6 separate regions of the Homo sapiens genome follow, and all the other regions are linked to region 2. Evidence: promoter capture Hi-C in 16 types of primary human blood cells and fetal thymus (Javierre and others, 2016). All regions are on one chromosome and are shown on one strand. Each heading gives the region's core, a stretch centred on a gene start or on the middle of the fragment in contact. The rest is flanking DNA. Distances are from core to core; before and after follow the strand shown. Region 1 holds the start of SMIM36 (small integral membrane protein 36). Region 2 holds the start of COX11 (cytochrome c oxidase copper chaperone COX11). Region 3 has its middle 7.5 kb from the start of PCTP. Region 4 overlaps SMIM36 (small integral membrane protein 36). Region 5 overlaps PCTP (phosphatidylcholine transfer protein). Region 6 has its middle 67 kb from the start of SMIM36.

Evidence for each region. The method cuts DNA at HindIII sites, captures the fragments that hold promoters and counts their contacts. A CHiCAGO score of 5 or more calls a contact.
Region 1: a fragment that was not itself captured here is called in contact with the fragment with the promoter of COX11 in region 2 in 7 of 17 cell types (naive B cells, total B cells, fetal thymus and 4 more); the score reaches 8.9 in naive B cells.
Region 3: a contact is called between a fragment that was not itself captured here and the fragment with the promoter of COX11 in region 2, in 1 of 17 cell types (total B cells). The highest score is 6.6, in total B cells.
Region 4: a contact is called between a fragment that was not itself captured here and the fragment with the promoter of COX11 in region 2, in 1 of 17 cell types (total CD8 T cells). The highest score is 6.4, in total CD8 T cells.
Region 5: a contact is called between a fragment that was not itself captured here and the fragment with the promoter of COX11 in region 2, in 1 of 17 cell types (naive B cells). The highest score is 5.5, in naive B cells.
Region 6: a contact is called between a fragment that was not itself captured here and the fragment with the promoter of COX11 in region 2, in 1 of 17 cell types (total CD4 T cells). The highest score is 5.7, in total CD4 T cells.

Annotation. Positions count from the first base shown.
Region 1 is chr17:55,506,903-55,511,468 of GRCh38, forward strand. SMIM36 (small integral membrane protein 36) reads right to left here and starts at 4,550. Exons shown (of 5, transcript NM_001395421.2): 1 at 3,977-4,550. The coding sequence starts at 4,432. The coding sequence ends at 4,151. The HindIII fragment of the contact is 257 bases long and covers 2,410-2,666 here.
Region 2 is chr17:54,966,876-54,971,225 of GRCh38, forward strand. It overlaps COX11 (cytochrome c oxidase copper chaperone COX11), which reads right to left and starts at 1,779. Exons shown (of 4, transcript NM_004375.5): 1 at 1,406-1,779. The coding sequence starts at 1,771. STXBP4 (syntaxin binding protein 4) reads left to right here and starts at 1,890. Exons shown (of 18, transcript NM_178509.6): 1 at 1,890-1,940. RefSeq lists enhancers at 849-1,798, 1,648-1,707, 1,718-1,797, 1,799-2,747, 1,978-2,077 and 1 more. The HindIII fragment of the contact is 10,915 bases long and covers 1-2,039 here.
Region 3 is chr17:55,741,284-55,745,792 of GRCh38, forward strand. No RefSeq gene overlaps it. Among named protein-coding and RNA genes, the nearest start is that of PCTP, 7.5 kb to the right of the region's middle. The HindIII fragment of the contact is 3,537 bases long and covers 1,066-4,509 here.
Region 4 is chr17:55,481,702-55,486,336 of GRCh38, forward strand. The region is part of intron 1 of SMIM36 (small integral membrane protein 36); the gene reads right to left. Among named protein-coding and RNA genes, the nearest start is that of SMIM36, 27 kb to the right of the region's middle. The HindIII fragment of the contact is 808 bases long and covers 2,374-3,181 here.
Region 5 is chr17:55,758,542-55,762,736 of GRCh38, forward strand. The region is part of intron 1 of PCTP (phosphatidylcholine transfer protein); the gene reads left to right. Among named protein-coding and RNA genes, the nearest start is that of PCTP, 9.6 kb to the left of the region's middle. The HindIII fragment of the contact is 4,198 bases long and covers 367-4,195 here.
Region 6 is chr17:55,576,191-55,580,323 of GRCh38, forward strand. No RefSeq gene overlaps it. Among named protein-coding and RNA genes, the nearest start is that of SMIM36, 67 kb to the left of the region's middle. RefSeq lists enhancers at 1-1,023, 703-772. The HindIII fragment of the contact is 3,156 bases long and covers 319-3,474 here.

The sequences.
Region 1 (4,566 bases), core at 1,288-3,787, 540 kb after region 2:
AAAAAGTGGGCGAAGGACATGAACAGACACTTCTCAAAAGAAGACATTTATGCAGCCAAAAAACACATGAAAAAATGCTCATCATCACTGGCCATCAGAGAAATGCAAATCAAAACCACAATGAGATACCATCTCACACCAGTTAGAATGGCAATCATTAAAAAGTCAGGAAACAACAGGTGCTGGAGAGGATGTGGAGAAATAGGAACACTTTTACATTGTTGGTGGGACTGTAAACTAGCTCAACCATTGTGGAAGTCAGTGTGGCGATTCCTCAGGGATCTAGAACTAGAAATACCATTTGACCCAGCCATCCCATTACTGGGTATATACCCAAATGACTATAAATCATGCTGCTATAAAGACACATGCACACGTATGTTTATTGCGGCATTATTCACAATAGCAAAGACTTGGAACCAACCCAAATGTCCAACAACGATAGACTGGAGTAAGAAAATGTGGCACATATACACCATGGAATACTATGCAGCCATAAAAAATGATGAGTTCATGTCCTTTGTAGGGACATGGATGAAATTGGAAATCATCATTCTCAGTAAACTATCGCAAGAACAAAAAACCAAACACCGCATATTCTCACTCATAGGTGGGAATTGAACAATGAGATCACATGGACACAGGAAGGGGAATATCACACTCTGGGGACTGTGGTGGGGTGGGGGGAGGGGGGAGGGATAGCATTGGGAGATATACCTAATGCTAGATGACGAGTTAGTGGGTGCAGTGCACCAGCATGGCACATGTATACATATGTAACTAACCTGCACAATGTGCACATGTACCCTAAAACTTAAAGTATAATAAAAAAAAAAAAAGAAAAAAAAAGAATGGTAAAAAGACCACTGGCTTTGCGCATGCGCACTTTACCTCTTCCGAACTGCAATTCTCCCATTAGTTCAGTCCATCAGCCTGCGGACTTAAGCCAGGCGTCGTGCTGACATTTAAAGATGATTCCTCTTTCGTCATAAGAAGAAACACAGAACATCATTTGATAAACATAAAAATTAAAGAGCTCTGCTGGCAGTCCCTTTACAAGGCACTGGAGAAACCCTGGGTTGGGCATGACTGGTGCTTTTACCAACACAAGCCTAAGGGACCCCTCTGGCTGCTGGATTAGCCCTAAATGCAACCATTTGGTTTACTGGTGTAAATATGAGCTATTAGTGTCTGGTGGTGCATTAGAGTGGCCCCAACCTACTGCTTTGCCTTGTAACAAACACACAATGAAAAGAGCAGAGTTGAGTGTTGTATTTACACTGCCTGTCTAAATCTGGTTTCATAGCCCAACATCCCCCTCACCCCTTCCACAAGGATACTCATTAATGCTGCCACAACCAAGTTAGTGCCTTGTTTTCTACCTCTAAGAGTGCAAAACGCAATAAAAAGGTGTCAGTATTTGTCCTGAAAACAAACAAACAAAAAAAGAAATACATACATTCAATATATATATTCTCTCTATATATTCCCGTAAAATATATACATATTTTATATATATATTCCTAGGAATATATATATATATATATATATATATATATATATATATGAACCTGCCCTTTTCTTAATGTGAGCTTCATCTGAACTAACCTTCTTATTTCTTTCCCTTTCATGGGAATATAAGTATATAATATATAAAGGGTAGGTTCTTAGAAACTGCCTGTGAATTTATGGTGTTTCTTCATTCAGTTTATATTTTCATTATAAAAGTGAAGATGGTGGCTGAGCGCGGTGGCTCACGCCTGTAAACCCAGCACTTTGGGAGGCCGAGGTGGGCGGATCACCTGAGGTCGGGAGTTCGAGACCAGCCTGGCTAACATGGTGAAACCCCGTGTCTACTAAAAATACAAAAATTAGCTGCGTGTGGTGGCAGATGCCTGTAAGCCCAGCTATTTGGGAGGCTGAGGCAGGAGCATTGCTTGAACCCGGGAGGCGGAGGTTGCAGTGAGCCGAGATCGTGCCATTGCACTTCAGCCTGGGTGATAAGGGCAAGGCTCTGTCTCAGAACAAAAAAAAAAAAAAAAAAAAAAGTGAAGATGGCTTCTTGCTCATAAAGAAAACAAATTTCCTCTGAAGGGTTTTCAATATAGTTTTTAAATCACATACTTAAGAGAAAATATAATCTTCTGATAAAATAAGAAACAAATTAAATTAAAAATAAACATCAAAACCTGAAAACAAAGTAACTGGGATTATCTTCACGTTTGTTACAGCTACTTAACAATCCAAAGGCAAAACAGTGCTCATTGTCAAAGCTGGCAGGGCAGGCTGGCCAGGCCCTCCTCTTCAGTTTTCTACAGGAGAAACCAAAATTGAATTTCTCACGTTTTCTTCACATGTTGGACACCATCAGACCTTCACAACCAATGGACTCTAATTATTTTGCTTTCAAGCTTTGTTTTTGTTATTTCTTCTTCTAAAAGGCCATCTCCTGTCCTACCCTTCAAGATTCCAACATACTTTGGTTCTTCTGGAAAAATAACTACTTATCTTTTAAGACAAATCATCTTATCTTTGGTACCTGAGTCTAAGATGAAATTGGCCATTCAACATTATTCGAATATTTCTTGAGTGTCTTCTGTGTGCCAGACACTCGTGTCTCTGTTGACTCCTGCATCCTATGCAGACTTCTAAAAGAGCATCTGCAAAGCTTTCTTATCTTTCATTGTCTAAGTCATGCCTGACCCTGCTTCCTTCTGTTGGGCGGCAAAGATCATATGGCAGGGTCATGACACTCATTTCTCTTTATTTCCACACAGGTCCTGATGGAAAGAAGAGGTTCAGTAAATCTCAAAGTAAATACATACGTTTCTCTGAGCTCAGGGAAGGGAGGGTTAATAAAAATACACACAATGGAGATAATAATTCAAAAATTTTGGAAATAGACTAATGAACAGGGGAAAAAACATACCATTCAACATCAACAAAGAGAGTGAAGGGAGAGCAGGCAGTGTTCTGGGGACAGATACACCAAGCTGTGGGGTCTCAGAATTCTTTCAATGAGTTTTCAATAACTTTGTATTGGATCAGGCCGGATTTGAGGATTGGAGATTAAATTTTTTATGAGGCATATGGAAGGAAATATTATCAGTGATCATCATCATAGCTAACCCTGTGTGTCAAGAACTGTCTCAAGTGCTTTTGGTGAATTAACTCATTTAAATAGCCCCAAAAGCTTAGTGGTCCAATCACTATCCCTGAGACACAGAGGTGGCTCAACTTAACCATGGCCACACAGCTAGCAAGTAGAAGAGGCAGGATTTGAACCCAGGCTCCAAGCTTTGTTGTTTTAGTTGTATGCATTCCTTATTCTGTCTTGGAGTTGGGAATAGAACGTGAAGAGCTGGTAGGTACAGAAATAATAATGTTCTGAAGTCTGAACAAGTTCAATGGGGTTGCCTTGACTGGGTGCAGCAGCTCACATCTATAATCCCAGCATTTTGTGAGACTGAGGCAGGAGGATTGCTTGAGGCCAGGAGTTCAATACCAGCCTGGGCAACATAGTGAAACCCCATCTCTACAAAAAAAAGACAGGCGTGGTGTCATGACCTTAGAGTCCTAGCTACATGGGAGGCTGAAGTGGGAAGGTTGCTTGAGCCCAGTTCAAGGCTGCAGTGAGCTATGATCACGCTGCTGCACTTAAGCATGGGCAACAGAGCAAGACTCTGTCTCTTAAAGAAAAGAAAAATAACAACAAAAAACTGGTTGCCTTGGAAAGAAAGAATTTGCAAAGAATAGACTAGACTGGAGTTAGTCTCATTCCTTATCACACACACGCACGTGCACGTGCACACACACACACACACAATATTGCATCCTTTCTCAAAAGTCATTCTCTCCTGTGAGTTGCAAGGACAGCAACATCAGAAATGTACCAGTAACCAACTTCATTATACTACAGCATTGCTGACAGTTTGCATTTGGAGAATTTGACTAAAGACCACTTTGGGCTTCTTACCTTAAACAGTTACTTTTGTCACAAAGAAGGTGACGAGAAAACAGCAAGTAAGACAGAGCTCTCACTTCCTTCATCAAGCGGGATACATGTGCTGAGAGAATTGGAGCCACGATAGGGAGCAGTTTGTCTCTATGGAAAGTCTAGTGGTCTCTCCCCAGTGTCCCTTAGCCAGCCTCATACCATGGTGCTTTTCTTTCCTAGTGGAGCAGGATCCCCCAAAGAAAGGCCAGGCCCCTTTGGCCAGTGGGGCCCAGCGACACTTGGGTGCATCACCACCAACCGGATGGAGGGCTGGGCCTCGAGAGTGGCCTCGGGCGCGTACTCCTTACTGGGATCCTTGCCTCGGCAGTCGTATAGCACGCAGGAGATGAGGAAGACCAGGAGCAAGATGACGTAGCTCGCAACTAGGATGATCAGGTTCAAGGTAACAGGGTCGATCTCCAAGTAGAATTCCATCACTTCTCCCACGGTGGAGAAGTGGGTCTAGAGAAAGGCAATTGGGGTCAGTTTGGGCATTGCAGAGAGCAGATCTTAGAGCATCGGAATAGCTACATTGGCTCTGGAGTAAAAATACATTAATCCCTACTGCT
Region 2 (4,350 bases), core at 529-3,028:
AGAAAGGTAAATTGATTTCCACGGGCATGGTGGCTCACGCCTGTAATCCCAGCACTTTGGGAGGCCAAGGCAGGAGGGTCACTTGAGCCCAGGAGTTGAGACCAGCCTGAGCAACATAGGGAGACCTCGTCTCTACAAATTTAAATAAATAAACGTGCGCGCGCGCGCACACACACACACACACACACACACACACACGGAAAGAGTGAACTCCAGCTAAGAATACCAGTCATGGTGTTAAAAAAACAATTCCCAAACTTTCCTGCACGCTGGAATCACCTAAAACATACTTGACAATTACTGATGCCTGGTTCCCACTGTGGCCTTGTGATAAAATGGGTAATGTGTGTGGATTTTTAGAAGCTGTCCAGGTGATTCCCAATGTTGCTGTACAATGAATTTTGGGAGCCACTATCTTAAACACTTACTGAATCACTTGTGGCATGATTTTTAAACCGAAATTCCTGTCCCTACCCTAGACTTCCTAACCAGAATCTCTGGGGTAGGGGATCCCTGGAACGTGTATTTAACGTTAAGCTCCATAGGTGATCCTAATGGCCAGCCAAAGCTGCAAATTATTAGCTAAGAACAAAGGAGAAATCTCTAAAATACGTGAAACTTGTCTTTGCCTGTGGTTCTCAAAACTTGCCCTCAAAATCAACTACAGGACTTAACTAAAATATAGAGTGCTGGTCCCACTCCCCTTCTTCTCCCCGCCCCACCCCCCCACCCCGTGTTTCTGACTCAGTCCTGGAGTCGGGCCCTAGAATTTGCACTTTTAACAGGTTCCCGGGTGATGCTGATGCTGCCGGTCCTGGGCGCCACACTCCCAGAACCGTTGCAATGTACTTAACAGTTTCCAGGTTAAGTACATTACAGTTATATATTAACAGGGGTGGGGCGAGAGAGCCTCAAAGGCCTAATTCATGCCTCTTTGTACGGAGGAACTGCTAATCCCAGTTTAAGCCCAAGAAACACGAGTAGTCCAATTTCCAGAGTTACCCTTGGCACATAAACCACATGTGGTTTGCAGAGTGAATGTATGAATAATACATTTTAAAAGCGTGTGTGCGCAGGAGGGTAAGGCAGACTGCTAGATACCCGGTTAGAGGCTGCGGACCTTTTTTTTTTTTTTTGGCGAGGTGCAGTTCATAGATCAGGGGTTTCACTCTGCAGCATGGTATAAGCACAATCACTAAGAACTGGATGCTACTTGCAGTTTTGTCACCAATTTCTTTGGTGACTTTGGGTGTTAAGTGACTGTTTTGAACCTCTCTCCTCTTAGGTAGATAATATCGGAAACCTCTTCCACCTACGACCCGCAGAGCGAGGGCTTGTCCCGGGATTTGTCTTGCACCCCCACCTCTCGCGTCTGCGCCACCCTGCGGGCGGCGCCGGCCCCTACCTGGCAATAGAGCCGATAAAGGGGTACGGCAGCGTAGGACGCCCCCAGCATGCCCACGGCGACAGCGGCCACGTAAGTGAGGGTCGTCTTGTTCTGCCGCCGCCGCTCCTCCTCCTGCGCGCGTGTGAAAGGGTTCGAGCTCTTAGGCCGCCGCGGCGGCTGCAATGCTGGATGCCGGGCTCGAAGGCTGCAGCGCTTCCATGTCCCAAGCCACCTCAGTCCTCTCTCGGCACCTCCTGTCCCACTCCACTCTGGCCTAAGAAACGGCTCTACCCTCTCTGCAGCCCTGGTTGGAGACCCAGGGTGGATCCAGCGCCAGCCACAGAAAGGAACGCACCTCCATCCAGGACGCCAGAGCCCTCCCATAACCCTCTGAACTAACACCCACCCGCCTCTCAGGGACGAGAGGTCAAATCTCGCGAGGCGTGCTCCGTCTCGCGAGATCTGGGTTGAGCCTGCCGCTGCCTTGGCTACCAGGCTCCTCAGGTGGCAGCGCTTGCAGTCGGGCTACGGAGGCCGGGTTGCCAGATTACGGGTAAGTTTGCGTTTTGCTTTGTGACTGTTACTCCCACTTCGCTTCTCGCCAGAACGTCTCTTAACATTTAGGAAAATGCGTTTCGCCCGTCCGCGTGCAAGCTTGCCATCACTTGGGGTTGCGCCTGTGATCTTTATTTAAACTCCACCAGCCTTTGTCTCGACCCGGCAGCCCCGGCGACGCTCTCCCGCGGTCTTTTCTCCTGGGGTCCCTTGGCCGCTGGCTCCTGTGCTCACTGCCCTGGACTTAGTTCAAGTATCACCTCTCTCAGGAAGCCTTGCTGTGTTAACCGCAGCCCTCATGGGCACCCACGACACCTGCATTTTCTCAGCCCGTGGGCAGTCGGCTTCCCCTGCTCTGATGCCCCTTACAACTTGCCCAGTGGAAAGCACCACAGCTGGAGCAGGAGGGAGGCTGTCACGCTGAAGTTTGTTCTGGAGAGAGTGACCAGGATAGGAGGGCCATTTAAGGAGAGACTGAAAGAAACGAACCCCGTGGGAGGATGTAATAGCTTTCTTCAGTTGTCCCACAGGACGAACTCGAGGGGGGCAGACAGCATAGCGGATTTTACTGTGTTAGAAGGAAGCATCTTTCTAGAAACTATAAAATAGCAGTTAAGAGCTCAGGTTCTGAGGTTAGGGGGTTCTGGATTTTTACCCGGGTCCTCACCATGGCCCTGTGCCCTTAGGTCAGTTACTTGTCCTCTAAGACCTGGTGTCCTTACTTGTAAAATGGAAATCAGAACAGTAAATGAATAATATTCATATAACGTCTTTCATGATGACTGAGGCATAGTAAGAATGTAGTTAAAAGTTAGGCTGTATTTCTACTTGCTACGTGGCCATTTCTAATGGCCAGAGCAGGTATAATTATCCCCACTATGTGGATGAGGAACTTGGAGGCCTGAGAAATTTTAACTAGTCATTCGACATTTTATTTATTTATTGCCCTCTCAACTGTGGGCCTGACACCAATCGACCTGCTGGCACTATAGCACAGAACAAGTCGGGAGATCACTTCAGTGATGGAGTGTCCTTTCTGCTGAGGGACTCAGAAAATAATCAAGTAACAGTTACCGAAATAAGGGAATTTCAGATAACAATCAGTGCAGTGAAGACAATGTAATAACATAGTATGATTGACAGTCATGAGAAGCGGTAGTAAAGTAAGGACGTTTTGAAGAGGTGACATTTGAGTTTAGATCTGAACGATGATAAGGAGCTACCTACTCAATAACAATTCCAGGCCAAGCAAAGGCCCAGGGGAAGGAAAGAGATAGAATGATTGAAGAACAGAAAGAAGGCCACTGTGTTCCCAACATAGCAGAGTGGAAAGTGGTAGGAAATGGGGTCAGAACAGGTAACAAAGGCCTGGTAATACCAGCCTTTTAAGCCATGTCCAAGGGTTTGGATTTTATTCTAAAAGTAATAGGAAGCTATTGGAATGTTTGACACATACAAGTGATGTGATCTGACTCACATTTTTGAAAAGATATTGATTACTTTGTGGAGAATGGATTAAAGGTAGGGGGAGGAATGGAAGTAGAACAATTAGGAAGCAATTGCAGTAGTCCACATGAGTGATGATGGTCACCTTGAGTGAGTAATTGATTAACTTGTGGTCACAGGGCCAGAAAATTGCAGAACCAATAAAATATAAATACCTTCTGACTTCTTTCTATACTCTGGCATACTGTCTCAAAAATTTCAGGTCTCCATGATTCTACAAATTTATTCATATTGTGTGATGACAGTGTTTGAAAATCTTTTTCATCTGCATGCACCTTGGTTCTTGTACCAGATTCTCAGCTCTTCTAGGATGAGATTTCTCAAAGTTTAATTTTCTTACAGCATAGACTGAAATCCTTGATACCAACAGTACATTTCCACTCACCATTCTGTTTCTCCAGGCACCCCTTCTTTGTAGCTCCAGGTAGCAGTATAAATATATGTCAGTATACAGTCTTTGTCTTGGACTCCAGTATTTCATTTTTTGTATAATAATTGCAAAATGAAACTCTTATGTACAGTGATATTGATAGCAATGAAGTGGTGTTGGTCTTTGTAGCTTTCTACTTTAATAAAAGAAAATATGCATTGTATCTGATCTTAGTATGATAATGTGAAATGACAGTTCATGTTTATGAAATACTTCTGAATGACAACTAAATATTTTGGTTTTTTACTTATATTTTGAATGAAATGTGTAGAACATAATTTAGTTCAATGTCCAATTAACAAACATATTAAACAATTTAAAATATTTCTGCAACATAATAGTACTCAAATTTCTTGTATACCCTTCACCAAGATTAGAGAATGATAAAGATTCTTCAGTCTTTATCTGCATACTTACTTGTTTATTTCCTATTACAAGAACACTTTCTCCTTCCAAACCACAGAGCAGGCAT
Region 3 (4,509 bases), core at 1,584-4,083, 780 kb after region 2:
ACTGGAAGAAAGGTGAATGATGACTTTATTCTCTGATCCCTTCCAGGATTCAAACAAACCTAGTGTTCTGAACTGTCATTTTGTTTAGTGAGTTTCACATAAAGTATCTGTATTAACAGGTAAAACTGTAAACTCATCTTTCCTAACATCTGATTTTCATGTTCTTATTTTACTTACGTTAGCAGGCTAAATATACCATGGACTCTCAGTCTTTATGGATGTATGACAACATGGTTTGACTAACTGAATAACAAAGTTATTATCCAATCCTTGTGCCTCAATTCCCTCATCTGTAAAATGAAAGTGGTAGACTCGATAACACATAACATGTACATAAAATGATTTCTGCAATTCGTTGTTTGTGTTCATGTGTTTACATGGACTACTGGTTAAGGATGAGATTTGGCATCTGATACATCTTTGTACTCTACAGCAGCCATTACGGCCATGAAACCATAAAAATTTATACTGAAGGAGCTTTCAGATGTAGCCTTTAATGTATTCTTTTATCTATTAGTGTACTCACTCATTTGACAAATATTTATTAATGATAAATACACAATTGTCAAATGAATGAATACATAAATAAGAAAGAGAATACATTAAAGGTGATATCTAAATTATTTTTCAGCATGACATTATATGACATTTATGGCTATAATGGTTCATAAAAAGCCTTTTGGTAATGAAGACCTTTATAAATGTAATGAGGTTAGAAGCTGTGTTCACTGCTTCATGCCTGCAGATTTGACATCCATAATAGATGCCCAAAACATGAGAAAGGGGGCTCTGAAATCTCACAGAACTGACTCTAAACTCCAGCTCTGCCTTTGACCTGCCCATGAGACCTTGGACAACTTACTTCACTTCTCTAAACTTCAGTTTCTTCCTGTGCAACCTGGAGATTATAATAGAACTGACTTCACGGTGAAATTGTTGGAATTAAATGAAAACACTTAGCATAGTTCCTGGTCCATAATGAGTACTCGGCAGGCTTAAACTATTATTAACTGACTGTTGCAAGTTATTTTATAAGCTTTAGAGGCCAGGAACAGTGGTCTCTAAAGCTTATAAAATGACATTTTTTTTTTTTTGCTTCTTCATTGCCCTACCATGATAAAACTCTAGTGCTTTTGTGTGTGTGTGTGTGTGTGTGAGATGTATTCTCACTTTGTCCCGCAGGTGGGAGTGCAGTGGCGCGATCTTGGCTCACTGTAACCTCTGCCTCCTAGGTTCCAGTGATTCTCCTGCCTCGGCCTCCCGAGTAGCTGGGATTACAGGCGTGCTACTGTACTTTAATAGGAGTAGACATGCAATAGTAAAAGTTGAATAGACTAGAACTAAACTGATTTGGATGGCAATTGAAACATTAAAATCGACTCTGCTGCAGAATTTAGAAATGCCTATCAAGTGTTCACTTTCACTTTTCGGAGTGCTTTTGCTCATATTATCTGTTTAATCATGTCAGCAAATCCTTGAGATCGGCATTATTATTTTTACATCACTGTTAAGTAAACAGGTTTAAAAAATTAAAGTGACTTGTCTGGTTCTTAAAGTGACTAGAACTTGTCCTTGACTCTTGTCTTGGGAATCCACATACAAAATTAATTCTACAATGTGAAAAATATCTTTAGGGGAAGTGAGAAGTTCTGGTCTTACCCAGATGTTTTCTCTATGATACCACGTATTTCATTCACTTCTCAATTGCTCGGTGCATAATAGCTTTTACTAGTAAATAAGAACAGATACAGTAGCCTCTCCTTAGCCATGGTTTCATTTTTTCAGGTTTCGGTTACTTGTCAACTGAGGTCTGAAAATATTCAAAGGGAAAATTCCAGAAATAAAAGAATTCATAAGTTTTAAATTGTGTGCCATTCTGAACAGCGTGGTGAAATGTTGCACCATCTCAACCCCTTCCACCTGGGACATGAATTATTCCTTTGTCCAGTGTATCCACTCTGTCTACGTTGAGTGACTCACCTGCTGGAAGGCAGCCAGCTCAGTTATCAGATTGTCTTGATAATTCAGTGCCTTTCTTCAAGTAGCCCTTATTTTACTTAATTATCCTATGTAATGAATAGTTATTGTTGTTAATATCTTACTGTGCATAATTTATGAACTAAATTTTATCACAGGTATGTATAGGCAGGGAAAATCATAGTGTATGTAGGGTTCAGTAAAGAAAAATCATAGTGTTTGCAGGGTTCAATACTATCCGTGGTTTCAGGTACCCCCTGGGGGTCTAGAAACACATCCCCTGAGGATAAGGGGATGTATACTGTATACTTTTAGTATCTCAATTTCTTGAAAAAAGTTGATCAACAGGTAATGCATGTGTGTTCTCTATGCAGTTAGACATCTGTGAACATTCATTCATTTATTTTTAATAGCATTCCAAAATGGTGTTTTTTTTCTGCTATTTTTTCATTACAATTATACCTTTATTAGAATTTTTAAATTTAAATTATGTGTAATTCAAAAACACCAAAAGGGGCAGATAGTAATAGAACATTCATGAACCCACCACCCAGCATATACATTAATATCATGCCTTATTTACTTTATACTTTATTTAAAAAATAAAATATTACAGCTACCACTGAAGTTAATCTGAATCCCTCCTATTTACATTTTAAACACTTCAGGGCATATGTATAGTTTATAAACACTATGAAGTTTCTTGCCCTGTACATCCTTCTGTGACTTGCCTTTTTCATTTAACAGTTTTCAAGATTTATTCATGATATGCAAGTATATATATTGTTTATTTAAAAAACTATCAGATGAACATATTTATTTATTTATTTACTCTGTGGTTGGTGGATATTTATGTTGTTTCCAAGTTCTTTCCACTAAAATAATGTGCATCCTTATGCAGTATTATCAGTTCTCTCAGGTATACTCAAAAGTGGAACTGCTGGGTCAGACTGTGTGTATTCTCACATTTAATAGGTCTTGTTGAGTTGTTTTTAAAACTACTATTTGCACTTTAACCAGAATGTTTTATGTTGGAACTTCCATTTCCCTGAAAATTCACCAACACCTAAAGTCAGATTTTAAAGTTTTTGCCAATTTTCTGTAAATGAAATGGTACAACTGATTTTGCATTTTTCCAATTACTATGTAAGTAGAACAGCTTTTCCTTGTATATATGCTGTTTGGGATTTTCCACTGTTCATATTCTCAGTTGCATTATTTGGGCTTTCTTATTGATTTCTGAAATTTTGTTGTATATTTTCAATATTGATCCTTTGTTGGCTATGTGAGTAACAAATGTCTTCTACCAATCTATGTGATGGATTTTAATTTGTTTATAGTGTATGACTGAACAGGAACTCTTGCTTTTTAAAGTAGGCAATAATTAATCTTTTATGGTTTGTTCTGTATTGTGTCTTTAAGAATTTTTTTTTAACTTTTAGGTCATAAAGATTTACTCCTATATTATAATTTAAAAGTTTCCACATTTTGCCTTATGCAGTTGGTTCTTTACATGTCTGCAATTTCCATTATTGTATGATATGATACAGGAATATAATTTTAAAAATAACAATAGCCAGTTGTTCCAACAGCAGTTTTAAAATTGTCCATCCGTGCTTATGTACTGTGTTTCGAAATGTACATGGACTTGATGATGGATAGAAAGCTGTTACATGAGTTTTTTTTAAATCACTTTTTCCCTAGCCCTAGGTCAATATGATATTATTTTCTTTATGATAAATCCTAATATCTTACAGGGAATATTTTTATTTTTTCCCTCCTACTTTAAAAAATTGCTTTCCTATGTTTTCAAATTGCATGACCTTTAACACTTCCTTATGAATTTTAGAATTGGTGTGTCAAGTTCCTTGAACACCCTTTATGGAAATCTATTTAAATACCATTGGATTTATAGTTTGTATAGATAGAAATGGTGTTTAAAATATTAAATATCTTAAGCCATATGTATAGTATCAGTGAGAGGTCAGTGCAGAAAACAAACACTCTCTAGGTATCTAAGCAGAAATGAATTTAATACAAGGAATTAGTTGTGGGCTAGCTCCTGGAATAAGTATGTATTTGTTTTTTTTTTGTTGTTTCCAGATGTATAGGGGGCAGAAACTGGCTATTTTTGTTCATTTGCTCCTTCTTCTTTTTCTTTTTTCTTTTTTTGCATTGTCATTGGAGAACAGTATTGATTCTTCTGTATTTGTTGAAAACATCCTTTGTGGCTTACAAGATTGCCAATTTTAATGAATGTTTTATGAGGATTTGCAAATGTTGGTGTGTTCTACTTATTGAGTATGAGGTTCTATATATGACCTTTAGATCAAGCGTATGAGTTTTATGCTTAAATCTTCCCTATCTACCAGTTTTTCTGTCTGCTTGGTCAATTTCCTAAAAAAGAGCCTTAAAATGTTCCACTGTAATGATGAATTTGCTGATTTCTCCTTATACTGATGATAATTTTTGCCTTACATATTTGAGATTAAGTTGTAAAATGAATACATACAAATTTAAGCATTCCGAGTA
Region 4 (4,635 bases), core at 1,528-4,027, 520 kb after region 2:
TTATTATTTTGAGACAGGGTCTCACTCTGTTGCCCAGGCTGGAGTGCAGTGGTGCAATCTTGGCTCACTGCAGCCTCAACCTCCTGGGCTTATGTGAGTCTCCCACTTCAGCCTCCCAACTAGCTGAGACTACAGGCTTATGCCACTATGCCCAGCTAATTTTGTTTATTTTTTTTGTAGAAATGAGGTTCCACTATGTTGCCCAGGCTTGTTTCAAACCTGTAGACTCAAGCGATTCTCCTGCATCGACCTCCCAAAGTGCTGGGATTACAGGCATGTGTCACCGTGTCCAGCCAAGCATCATGATTTTAATAAAACTTTAATTTATGAAGTGGTATAGGACAATAACCCTCTCCATTGAGCTGACCAACCAGGTGTGACCTTCTGTTACCCATCAATTGAAGTTGGTGAGCTAGACAGATGAAGACTTTTTGCCATCCTAGTATTAGACGAATCCTAAGACCCTTTCTAAAATTGCAGAGAAAGAAGTTAGAGGTAAAGGAAAGAACTCGTTGGTTGCCACACATAGCATGTGTCCATACTTTTTTCCTACTTCTTAGGCCCTTCAATTATCTTATACTCCCACCGCATCCACAACATCCTCCCCACCTTTCATCTGCCCTACCCTGCCTATCTCATGAGTCCAAATCTATTCCTATTCTTTAGCCTAGCTTCAGTGCCACCTTGTCCAAGAAGTTGTCTGGAACCTGCAACTGAAACTCATCTCTCCTTCTCCAGGCTTCCACAGGCTGTTACCAAGCACTCTCATTGTACTTTTCAATTCAAATCTTATAGATTTTTCCTTTTTAATTATGGTTTCTTCCTCTTAATAGCCTATAGTTTGCTTGAGGACAGAATCTGGATTGATTCATTTCTGTGTCTTCAATAGCACCTGGCATAGTCTTTCACATTTAGTGGGCGTTTTATAAGTGTTTGTTGAATGGATAACAAAGAGACAGCCTGCATATTTGTCATTATTACATTGATAACTACCTTTATCCTTTGCATTTGTCATTGTTACATTGCTGACATAGAGAATTAGAGACTACAGGGAAAACATGTACTTACTGATAGAGGCATTCATATGGAAAATTAGTGCTCTTACTCTTTTTCCCTTAGAAGAATAACAACTTTCCCTTTTCTTAAAATGTGAGACCTGAGAGTAAAGGCATCTGTCAAATAAAGTCATTGAACATTGTAATGCAGCATTACACTTACGACTATAGCTTCAAGGTACATTTGTTTGACACTCTGGTTCATTGGGTCTTAACAAAAGTAGTCTAATAACATATTTGTGTAACATACAGAGATTTCAAAATGTGCACAAACTCTTGGCTGTCAAATGGCAGGCCAAATGGATGCTATTATCCTTGCTTTTTAGATGAAGATTCTGAGGCTCATTGAACTAATGTGAGTTCCTCAAGTTTACATAGGAAGCAGCAGAACCAGGGGGATTTTTTGTCAGCTCTGTCTAGCGTGAAAACCAGCAGAACATTCAGAAATTACAAATTCAAATGTTTCTTGTTGGGTTTGGCCTGAGTGCTCTCTCCCACATATGAACACTCACAGTAAGCATTGATTCTACCACTTTTTGCATTTTCTACCCTGAGATGCTATTGTTATTTTAAAATATGGAGACAGTGTAATAGTTTATTTTATGCATCAACTTAGCTAGGCCACAGTACCCAGATATTTGGTCAAACACCAGTCTAGATGTTGCTAGGAAGGTACTTTTGAAAAGAGATTAACATTTAAATCAGTAGAACAGTAAAGCAGATGACCCTCCATCATGTGGGTGGGCCTCCTCTAGTCAGTCGAAAAGCTTAAGAGACGAGGACTGAGGTCCAGACTGCCTTCGGACTTGAGCTGCAACAGTAACTCTCCTCTGGGTTTCTAGTCTGCCTGCCTGCCCTACATATTTCAGAAATGCCAGCCCCCAAAACTGTGTGAACTAATTTCTTTTTTTGAGATGGAGTCTTGCTCTGTACAGTGGCACAATCTTGGCTCACTGCAACCTCTGCCTCTGGATTCCAGTGATTCTCAAGCCTCAGCCTCCTGAATAGCTGGGATGATGTGTGTGTACCCGCTAATTTTTGTATTTTGAGTAGAGATGGGTTTCACCACATTGGCCAGGCTGGTTGGTCTTAAACTCCTAACCTCAAGTGATCTGCCTGCCTTGGCCTCCCAAAGTGCTGGAATTACAGGCATGAGCCACCGTGCTTGGCCTGTGTCAACTAATTTCTTAAAATAAATCTCTCTCTTTTTCTTTCTCTCTCTCTCTACACATTCTATTAGCTTTGTTTCTCCAGGGAACCCTGACTAATATAGACTGCTCCTAATTTATGAGGATAATTTATTTTATAAATGTATTTAAGCTTAGCATATAAGAACCCATGAATTTATAATGATACAAAATTTTTTAAACAGAAAAAAATCACCATAGCAAAAAACAAACAACAAAAAAAACTCAAAAAAATTAATAAATTGGACACTACTTGAAGTAACTAAGGTTTCAACTTCCCGTTCTGAAAATTGACCATTAAAAGGAAAGAGTTAAGCACTGATTCTGTATACATTGCACTGCAGGATAACCAAGCCCTAACTGAGAAGGGAAAGTTCTTTACAAAAAAATTCTAGCCAATAAATATGGAAGGACTGATAGAGCTAGAGCTGTTTTCTAACATCGAATGTAATAATTGATTCAAGCAATTATCAACAAGGAATGAAACCGTGAGATGAAAGGTAGACGAAGAACTTTACAATGGCTTGATCATGCTTATATTCCCAGAATTCACTCATCAATTTGAGTACCACTAAAAGTGGGACAATCACACATTATAAACCTCCCAGTACAAGGATATTTGCAGCAAACAGAACCATCTGGGAAGAATTCTTATCAAAAAAGATGAGGCTGCATCAGGCCTTTCGCTAATGTCAATGTATAGGAAATATGGCAGATAGAACAAATTAAAGCAGACAGTAAAACAAAAAGACAAACTCCCAATGGGTAGGCAACTAAGAGTAGAGGAGTGTTACTCATAATTGTACTGGGACAAAAGGTATAAACTGGGGCTGTCTCATGCAAAACTTGAGGCGTGGTCACTGTAAGCATGTGGTACATTCTAAAAGATGACTGACCTGGCTTCTGCAAGAAGTCAATGGCATGAGGCAAAGGCAAGAAAGCTTGTTCTAGATTAAAGGAGAGTTAAGAAATATTAGGACCAAATGTGATGATGGACCAGGTTTGGATTCTGATTTCAACTATTAGGGAAATATGCTGCCATTGACTGGGTTTAGCTGATACCAAGAAATCCTTATGTCACAGATACTGTAAGAAAATTGAGGTAATGTGAGAAACTATCCATATTTTTTAGAGATGCATAATGAAATACAGAGGGGTAAAATGACATGATATATATGATTTTCTTTAAAATATTTTATTAAAGGATAGATTAGGCTAATATGGCAAAATCTTGATAATTACTGGTGATAATTTTATGGAGACTGTCTACCATTTTCTCTATGTCTTAGTATATCTGAAAATATTCATAATCAAAATAAAAATCTAAATCTGAAAAGAAACATTTTCTCTCTTTTGTTTTGAGACAAGGTTTTCTTGCTCTGTTGCTCAGGCTGGAGTGCAGTGGTACGATCATAGCTTACTGCAGCCTCAACCTTCCAGACTCAAGCAGTCCCACCTCAGCCTCCTAAGTAGCTGGGACCACAGGTGTGTTCCACCATACCCTGCTGATTTTTTTTTTTTTTCCTGTACAGATGAAGTCTCCCTATGTTGCCCTGGCTGGAGTTGAACTCCTGGGTTTAATTGTTCCCCCCACCTCGGCCTCTCAAAATGCTGGGATTACAGGCGTGAGCCACTGTGTCCAGCAGAAAAAAGCATTTCTTAAAAACCAACATGGTCTATGGTTGTTGGGTCTAAGAACACAACTATTTGCCTATTTATAGTTTATAGAATAATGTTAATATCTAATATACATTGTGCTTGCTAATGAAGTTCTAAGTACTTTGTATGTTATAGTTAATTTAATTCCATAAGCCCTGGAAGGCAGGTATCTACTGTTATCATTCCCATCTTACGTATGAGGAAACGGAGGCACTGAGAAATTAGCTACCCAAGGTTATATGTCAAGTGAGTTTAAAGCTAGAGTTTGAACTAGGCAGTATATCACTAGCATCCATATATATTCTTATCCATTCTACTACTTTATGCTTAATGTTAATTTCCAAGAGTAGAGTAGTATTAATTCTTATGTGACATAAAACAGTGAATTGAGATGAAGAAAAGAAAGAAAGAGCTTTCTTTTTTTTTTTTCCTTTATTCTTTTTTTTTTTTTGAGACGGAGTCTTGCTCTGTTGCGCAGGCTGGAGTGCAATGGCGTGATCTCCGCTCAATGCAACCTCGCCTCCCGGGTTCAAGTGATTCTCCTGCCTCAGCCTCCCAAGTAGCTGGAGCTACAGGCCCATGCCACCATACACAGCTAATTTTTTTTTGTATTTTTATTAGAGACAGGGTTTCACCATGTTGGCCAGGATGGTCTCGATCTCTTGACCTCGTGATCCACACACCTCTGCCTCCCAGAGTGCTAGGATTACAGGCGTGAGCTATGGCTCCCCGCC
Region 5 (4,195 bases), core at 1,216-3,715, 790 kb after region 2:
AACTGTTCTGCTCCTTTCTGTCATCCTTCTGATTACCAGCGTGATTGATAGAATCATTCTTGAGCCCTGGTCACTTATGGAGCTGAAATTTACTTGTGGGCAGAGCCACCATGTCTCCAGGACACCCGTCTGTGGCATTCTACTTCCCACCATAGACCAAGGCCAGCTCCTTCTTTTCTGTCTCCCTTGAGTGTGCAACTGGGTAGATAAGTTAGAGTCTCAGTTTTTCCCTCTCCTCGCATCTGTCTTAGGATAAGCCTGTGGGTATGAGGCCATGCGAGAATGCTGGTCTCAAGGTTCAGATTTGGTGGAAGGAGGGGAGAGGAAGGAGTAAGATGCCTCCCTTCTGTCTCCAGGTATAAGCCAAGCTTTATGCTCTCACTCTGTCTTTCACCAGATTGCTGTATGGCGATTACAGGAGGTGGCTATTAATAAAACAAAACACTGATATTTCATTCAGCCTTGGGAATCCCTTGAGAAGAGAGATGACTTGTAGGGAAGGGTATAGGCATTCTGAATGCTTGGACATAATACCATACCAACATCTGGAGTGAACCAGCAGGTGAATCTGGGGCAATGCTGAATAGAGGTTCTTGTCTCTATACATGTGCCTTTTCTGGACATTTTGCAGAACATCTTTAAGCCTCAGTTTTCCTGTTTGAAAAGTGGGTTTACTGATGGTCCATACCTCGTATCATTATTTGGATTAAGTGGGATAATCCATGTAAAAGCACTTGGATCAGTGCCTGCTGTTCAGTTAATACTCAGTAAACATCAGCTATGAGTATTGTTTTACCTAGCTGTGTGCAACCCTGAAGGATTAGACCTATCACATTTTCTTAGAGAGGTCTTAAATATTAAATCAGATTTAGCCAACTATCTGTCTTTGTAGAGTCTTGGCACATACTTCCCAGCAGCAGCTGCAGCTTTGACTTCTGCCATTAGAACTGCTTTACTTTGATGAAAAATACTTATTTTTCATACCATCTGAGTCTATTACTTGCCCCAAAGTGGATGGACTTGGACAGCTTTTAGATAAATAGATTGGGGGTGTTTCCTGTCCCTCTGAGGAATGGAAATGAGCGCTTCTGTGAGAGGCAAAGAGAACTCAATGCACACTCATGAGTGCATTCACAGGATTTGAGAATATGTGATTTATCAAGACCACCTTGTAGTTAGTGGTGTAAATTCAGATAAACACCATAAATTGGAGGTAATGAGTGGTGCCTTTCTCCAGGCCTGGATGGGTGATGGGACATCTACAGGAGATTACTCCTGTGTGGGGATTGCAAGTGTCATTTGCAAACATTACGACATTTTGACACATCTCATATGTAAATGCATAGCATCTCTTTCAGAGTTTATTCTGTTTGGGACAAATAAGTGTACTGTTGACAATAATATTTCTCAGAATACTTTAACCTTGTAAATATAATTGAAAACAAATTGCACAGATGTTTTTTTTCACGCATTTGAATCACCATTGCTGAGAAATATACCAGTTTAATGTTTCGACAAGTTAGCCAGCACGATAGCATCTCAAAAATTAGTGATAACAGTAACAGATTTCCTGGCCATGCATTCCCCTGTCTCCAGCCTCCATTTCTTCACTTATAAAGTGGAGTTAATGATGCTTACATCACAGGATTATTGCAAGTATTCATGATTAAGCCCAGCCTGGCTTAGAGCAGGTTCACTGTAGATATTGGTTTTCCTGAAAATGTACATTACAGTTCTGAATCCCAGTTCTTTAATCTGGAAAAAGGAGATTATCGTACCTACCTTGTTAATGAAATAGTAACCTACCTTATTAATGGGAATGATATCTAATATTTACTAAGTACTTATTATGTGCACCACATAATAGAACTTTAGATGGATTATCTAGTTTAATCCTCATAATCATTCCATGAAGTAGAAACTTATTAGACCCATTTTGCAGGTTAGTAGTGGAAGAGGTTAGATTCTACCCAGACGGTGAATCTGAGCCCATGCTATTACCACCACACTGTCTTTTCTGACTAGCTTTTCTGATTTATGAGACAGCACTTTGGAATAGTATATGGAAAAACTTGGCACAGTACCTCATCTGTTGAAAGTGATAATATTCATCTTTCTCTATACCTGCCTTTCTCCTGGTTCCTTTCTGAACCCTTCAGAAGCAGCATCTAAAAAAAAATACTTCTTCTGGCCCTTTGGAGGCCTGTTGGGCAAACACACCAGGCTTAGGGACTCAGGGGAGCATCTCAGTGGGAGGTCCGTTCTGGGTGGCCTGGAGCAGGAGTACTGGCTTAGGGAAGGAAAGGGTTCCCATCCAGGCTTTGCCACCAACAGCGTCATCAGCTGACTCTTGGCAAGTCACTCACATTACACAGCTAAGCTAAGACCCCTTCCTGCTCTAAGATCCTGTGTGATGGGTCTTCTTTATCTTTATCATTAGTTTGTGGTCTGGAACAATGATTTGGGAATGACATGCAGAGAAAATACAGCTAAATAAGGAGACATTGTAGGGAATAGAAGGGGCCAGTGTGCAAAGACACACCATTTCTTTCTGTCTGTCCTGTTACTAGCTGTAGGACTTAGGCAAGTAAGTTGGCCTTTCTAAGCATCATTTCCTTCTGTAAAGGTAGAGATAACACCAACTTCCCTATCTACATCACAGGGCTATCTTAGCTGTTACATGAGAGAATGAATATAAAACGTTGGAAAGTGGACCATGCTTAGAAAAACAATGACTAGTATTATTGAAAGAATTTGTAGCAGGTCAAAGGGATTAGAAAACTCCTTCAAATACAAAATACATGACTTTTGTTGTATTGTTAATAAATCATCAAGGGAAACAGAATCCAGTCTGCAGTCAAGTAGAAGCCTCTGCCTGGTTTCTTCTTGGGATCAAGATATAGTGAATACCAGCTGGTATTCACTATATGTACTATAGCAGGTATATATAAAAATATATATACCTACTGGCATTATATATACACATATATATCTGCTGGTATTATATATAAAATATATAATATATAAATATATGTAATATATATTCTATATATAACATTATATTTATGTAGAATAATATTTCTATATATATTTATATATATTTTTTCTGAGTTAGTTATTCAAAGGAGACAGTACTTTTTATAACATGGCATGTAGGGTCTTGTACGCATTTGTGCAAAACTAAATGTTGTATCTCAATTTAATATCCATTAAAGTGTCCATTATCTCTTCCTTGACAGTACATTTTAGCAACATTTATGTACTTCTGTACTGTTTTAATGAATTTATGTATAATTATATTTCTTGTAAATATTCATAAGTCTTACCAGCACTATTCTGTCAGTCTACTTTTTTACCTTGATGTCAGATTTTTAAAAATAAATCTGGACTTGGTAAGGAGAGACTTGTATTCAAATGGATTATTTCAAGGAGTTAGGGAAAGAAGTATTACAGTAGGAAAAGTGCTTTGCCGATAAGCTCTGCAGGCATCTTGGGAGTTGCAGAGCCGTTCTTTTATAAAGAGGAGCAAAGAACGTTAGAAAGAACCATATGCGGGGATGTGGGATGAAAGGATGGCATGATCGGATAGCAGATCAGAGAATACTTTTCCCTGAGCCCAGCCTGTTTTCAGGAGGGACTGTATGCTGGCTCAGGTTTAGGATGGGCCAAAGTTCAGGGGCCTGGAGGAAGGAGAAAAGTTCAACCAGTTGGGTTAACAAGCATTTTGTTCTGGTTGATCAGTGGGGGTGGGCAGCTTAGCTAATCATTTATAAGACAAAGAAAGGGAAATCTGGAGGGTCTGTGTCTGGCCTTGTCATAGGTAAACGGGGGCATCCGTGAGTCTTATCTAAGTCATATGGGGAAGGGTAGTGGATCTTCACAGTAAACTTTATGAAACACAAAAGGTAGGGGATTTCTTAACCTTCACTGTAATCTAGGATGACAGGGTTCAAATAAAATTCAGCATTGTTGATAAGGACCACTATGTCAATTAGGATTGTTTTTAGCTACAAGTAATAGAAAATTGGACAATCAATGACAAACAGAGGCATGTTTATCTCACCTAATAAATAGGTCAGAGTTCTACCTATTGGTAGAGTTTGCTGTCATTGATTTAGCATTCAGTGATGCCAGCAACCCTCTGAGTCTTTCTACTCTGTTTCTCATGTTGATTGCCTCTTGGTCATAGGATAGT
Region 6 (4,133 bases), core at 647-3,146, 610 kb after region 2:
GCTAAAAGGTAAATCCTATCCTGTCGCTCTTCTAAAATCCCTCCAGTGGTAACTGGAATAAAATCTAAACTCCTCCCACTGACTCACACAGCCCTACGACACCCGACATTCATAACTTTTGACTCAACTGTTACTATTTCCACTCCCACCCCGAGCCCCACCCCTAACTCCACTCTGGTCACACAATCCTTCTTTCAGTTCTTCAAACATTCCATGCTTATTCCCAGCTAATGGCCTTTGAGCTTGTAGTTCTCTCTTTCTGACATATTTTTCCTTGTTACTTTTGTCTGTCTGTCTCCTTTCGTTATCCAGATCTCAAGCTTAAATATTACATCTTTAGAAAGGTCTTCCCTAACCACCCAATCCAACCTACACCTAGTTTCTCTCCATCAGATCTTTTGACTTTAATTCTCTGCATGATGTCATCATGAGCTGCTATTTCTTCTTGTTTACTTCCTCTTTTTTCTCTGTCTGCCCTTCCCAACCCAACCCCTCCATACATGTCTTGAATTTTAGTTGTAACTCCAGTGCCTACAACAGTGCCTAACACATAGCAGGTGCTAGAAAATAATTTTTGAATACATGAACAAGCAAAGAGGGAAAGGACAATCACTCAGACAAAAGGAGACAAAAGGAGCATAAAGGACTGAAAAAAAATATTCAGCGTAGTGAGAAGCTGGGAGCACAGAGAGTAGGAGGGAGCAGGGTGAAAAGGACAGCGGAGAGCAGAAGCCTCCAGCCCACGCAGCACTCGGAGGGATTTTAAGGAGTTTCATCTTCATCCAAATACTAATGAGAAGGCAGACACAGGGCTGAGAAAAGGATAATATGCTAGTGATCTTGAACTCAAACTGAAAGAGACTTAATAGGAAAAATAAGGCCACTGCTGTAGTGATGGGCCCCCGGGTAGTCAGAGCAGAAATGCACTGACCCACATCAGTTCATTTCTCTCCCCATGGCACACACAGTCATCATCACTTCCAGCCTCGCCACCATGAAGTGAACAACAGCCCGTGGAATGAACTTTCACTTCTTCAAGAGCATAATGCTGCTTTCCAACCCAGGCCCGCCCTGCATGCGGTTTCCTCTACATACAAAGCTCCTCCAACTTCCACATGCCTAGTTAACTCCTTTTTTCCCCTTCATTTCTCTGCTGAAACCTCATTTCCTCAGGAAAAGCCTTCTTGGACCCTCTCCCCGCACCATACTGTGTCAGGGCCCACTGTTATAGTTCCCTGAACTGTAACTCCAAGAAATTACCATTCTTTCTTTCACAGCAGGAATCAGTATCACATGCGGTTGAAAATGAAAGCTGTTAGACTGCGTAGCATCCCACATTTTCTACGTGGTAGCTGTGTAAACATAGGCAAATTATATAATCTCCTTGAAGACTTCAGTTTCATTATCTGTAAAATAGGAATAATAATAGTCCCTACTTCAAAAATTTTTTTTTTTTTTTTGAGACGGAGTTTCGCCTTTGTTGCCCAGGCAGGAGCGCAGTGGCGCGATCTTGACCCACAGCAACCTCCGCCTCCGGGTTCAAGAGATTCTCCTCCTCTCAGGGGAGGCCTTCCCATGCCCCGACAGTGCAGAGATGCCCGACTGTGCAGTCTGGGTTTGGTGGCTGCAGCTGTGCCCGAGGGGGTGGGGCTCCTTCCTGCTCTGTGGAGTGGGAGGCCCGAGTCTGCAGCCATGACTTGGGCTGTTGTGGCTGCACCTGGGGAATTCCCTCCCCATCAGCTCGGAAGTGTTGTGATTCCCACTTGTTGCCAGCTCCACGGAGTGTGCAGCCCTGGCTGAGCTTCGCTGTTGCAGCCAGCGTAATGGCAGCGGCTGCCCCAGATGGGCTGCAGGCGCCATCATTAGCACAGCCCTCTATGAAAAGCATTATGGCTATTTCTCAAAGAACTAAAAGTAAATCTACCATTCAATCCAGCAGTCCTACTACTGGGTATCTACCCAAAGGAAAAGAAGTAGTGATATTGAAAAGACACCTGCATGTATATGTTTATGGCAGCACAATTCACAATTGCAAAGATAATGGACCATCAATTGATAAGTGGATAATGAAAATGTGTTATATATACACCATGGAATACTACTCAGCCATAAAAAATAAACAAAATGATGTCTTTTGCAGCAACTTGGATGGAGTTAGAGGCTATCATTCTAAGTGAAGTAACTCAGAAATGGAAAACCAAATATATATTCTGACTTCTAAGTGGGAGCTAAGCTATGGGTACACAAAAGCATACAGAGAGGTATAATGGACACTGGATACTCAGAAGTGGGGCGAGTGAGCAGGGGTGAGGGATGAAAAATCACATATTGGGTACAATGTACACTCCTTGGTGACCAGTGCACTAAAATCTGACTTCACCACTATACAATTCATCCATATGACCAAAAACCACTTGTACCCCAAAAGCTGTTGAAATAACAAGATTATATGTATATGCGATTATATATATATAATTATATATATGTGTGTGTGTTCCTGGTTTATTTTATATATATAATTTATATATATACATATATATGTGTGTGTGTGTATATATGTGTATATATATAAAACCAGGAGAAATTCTAACTGGGCTAAATATATAAATATATATTTATAATTTCTTGTTTGTTTGTTTGAGACAGAGTCTCACTCTATCACCCAGGCTGGAGCGCAGTGGCGCCATCTTGGCTCACCGTAACCTCTGCCTCCTGGGTTCAAGCGATTCTCATGCCTCAGCCTCTTAACGTAGCTGGGTTTACAGGCATGTGCCATCCTACCCTGCTAATTTTTGTAATTTTAGTAGAGATGGGGCTTTGCCATGTTGACCAGGCTGGTATCAAACTCCTGACCTCAAGCAATTGGTCTGCCTTGACCTCCCAAAGTGTTGGGATTATAGGCGTAAGCCACTGCACCCAACCTATAATTGTTTTTAATAATTATTATAGGCATTACAGCCCAAAAAACTGAATGACATTTCTTCACATGAATCTATTACTCTTACTTATACTGAGAAGTGGATATCATAGCATCCACTCACAACTTAACAGACTACTGACAGACACAGCACAAGGAGTTTTGCATTTAAGGTATCTATGTGATGTTCTTCTACGTGATGTTTCAGTTTTCAATTCCTTTCTCTGTACAACTGTAAACCTTCAATTAAAAAGTGCTCTGTGGGGTCATTTGGCCTTCACTTAGTGCTAATGCAATTAGCGTCACAAAAGCAAGGGCCCTGAAATTGTATGGAAAAACTCTGTTATCCAGTGGTCATCTAGAACAGGCAGAATGTTTTTAGATTAAGTTCAGTGATGTATTATCATTGAAGTGAAAACAGAATTTAAAATTCACATGGAACTTTCAGACCTCAGGGTGTGCTTTTGCTGATACTCATGTGTGTGCAGTTGACGGTTTGTTACAGTGCTACATATTATTGATGTTCCAGTGCTCTTTTTGTATTTCCTCTCTTCCTAAGCTTCCTGGCTGACATAGCCTCTCTGTGCATAGCCTTCTACAATCATCATGTTACCATGCAAATGAAAAGTCTAGTTATATCTATATCTACATTTATCTGTCCTTTTTTTTTTGAGACAGGGTCTTGCTCTGTTGCCCAGGCTGGAGTGCAGTGGTGCGATCTCAGCTCACTGCAACCTCTGCCTCCAGGTTCAAGTGATTCTCCTGCCTCAGCCTCCCAAATAGCTGGGATTACAGGTGCACACCACCACCCCTGGCTAATTTTTATATTTTTAGTAGATATAGGATTTCACCATGTTGGCCAGGCTGTTCTTGAACTCCTGACCTCAAGTGATCCACTTGCCTCGGCCTCCCAAAGCGCTGGGATTACAGGTGTGAGCCACTGTGCCCAGCCTGTGTATTTTTATGTAAATTTAAGGTAAAAAGTAGCACCATTGCGTGCCTTTTCAAAATTGCTCTTTGTTGTATCTTGCATATTATTCCTCACTGATGAGAAATTCTGATAAGATAAATACCACTGAGCAACTATAATTCATGGGAATACTTTGTTTAAGGTTCATGCCTAAATTTCTGTATCACAGATTCCCAAGTCTGAAATTATCTGAAATTATAGCCCATATCCAAATATGCAGCCGCTAAACTCAAGTTAGAACTGTGA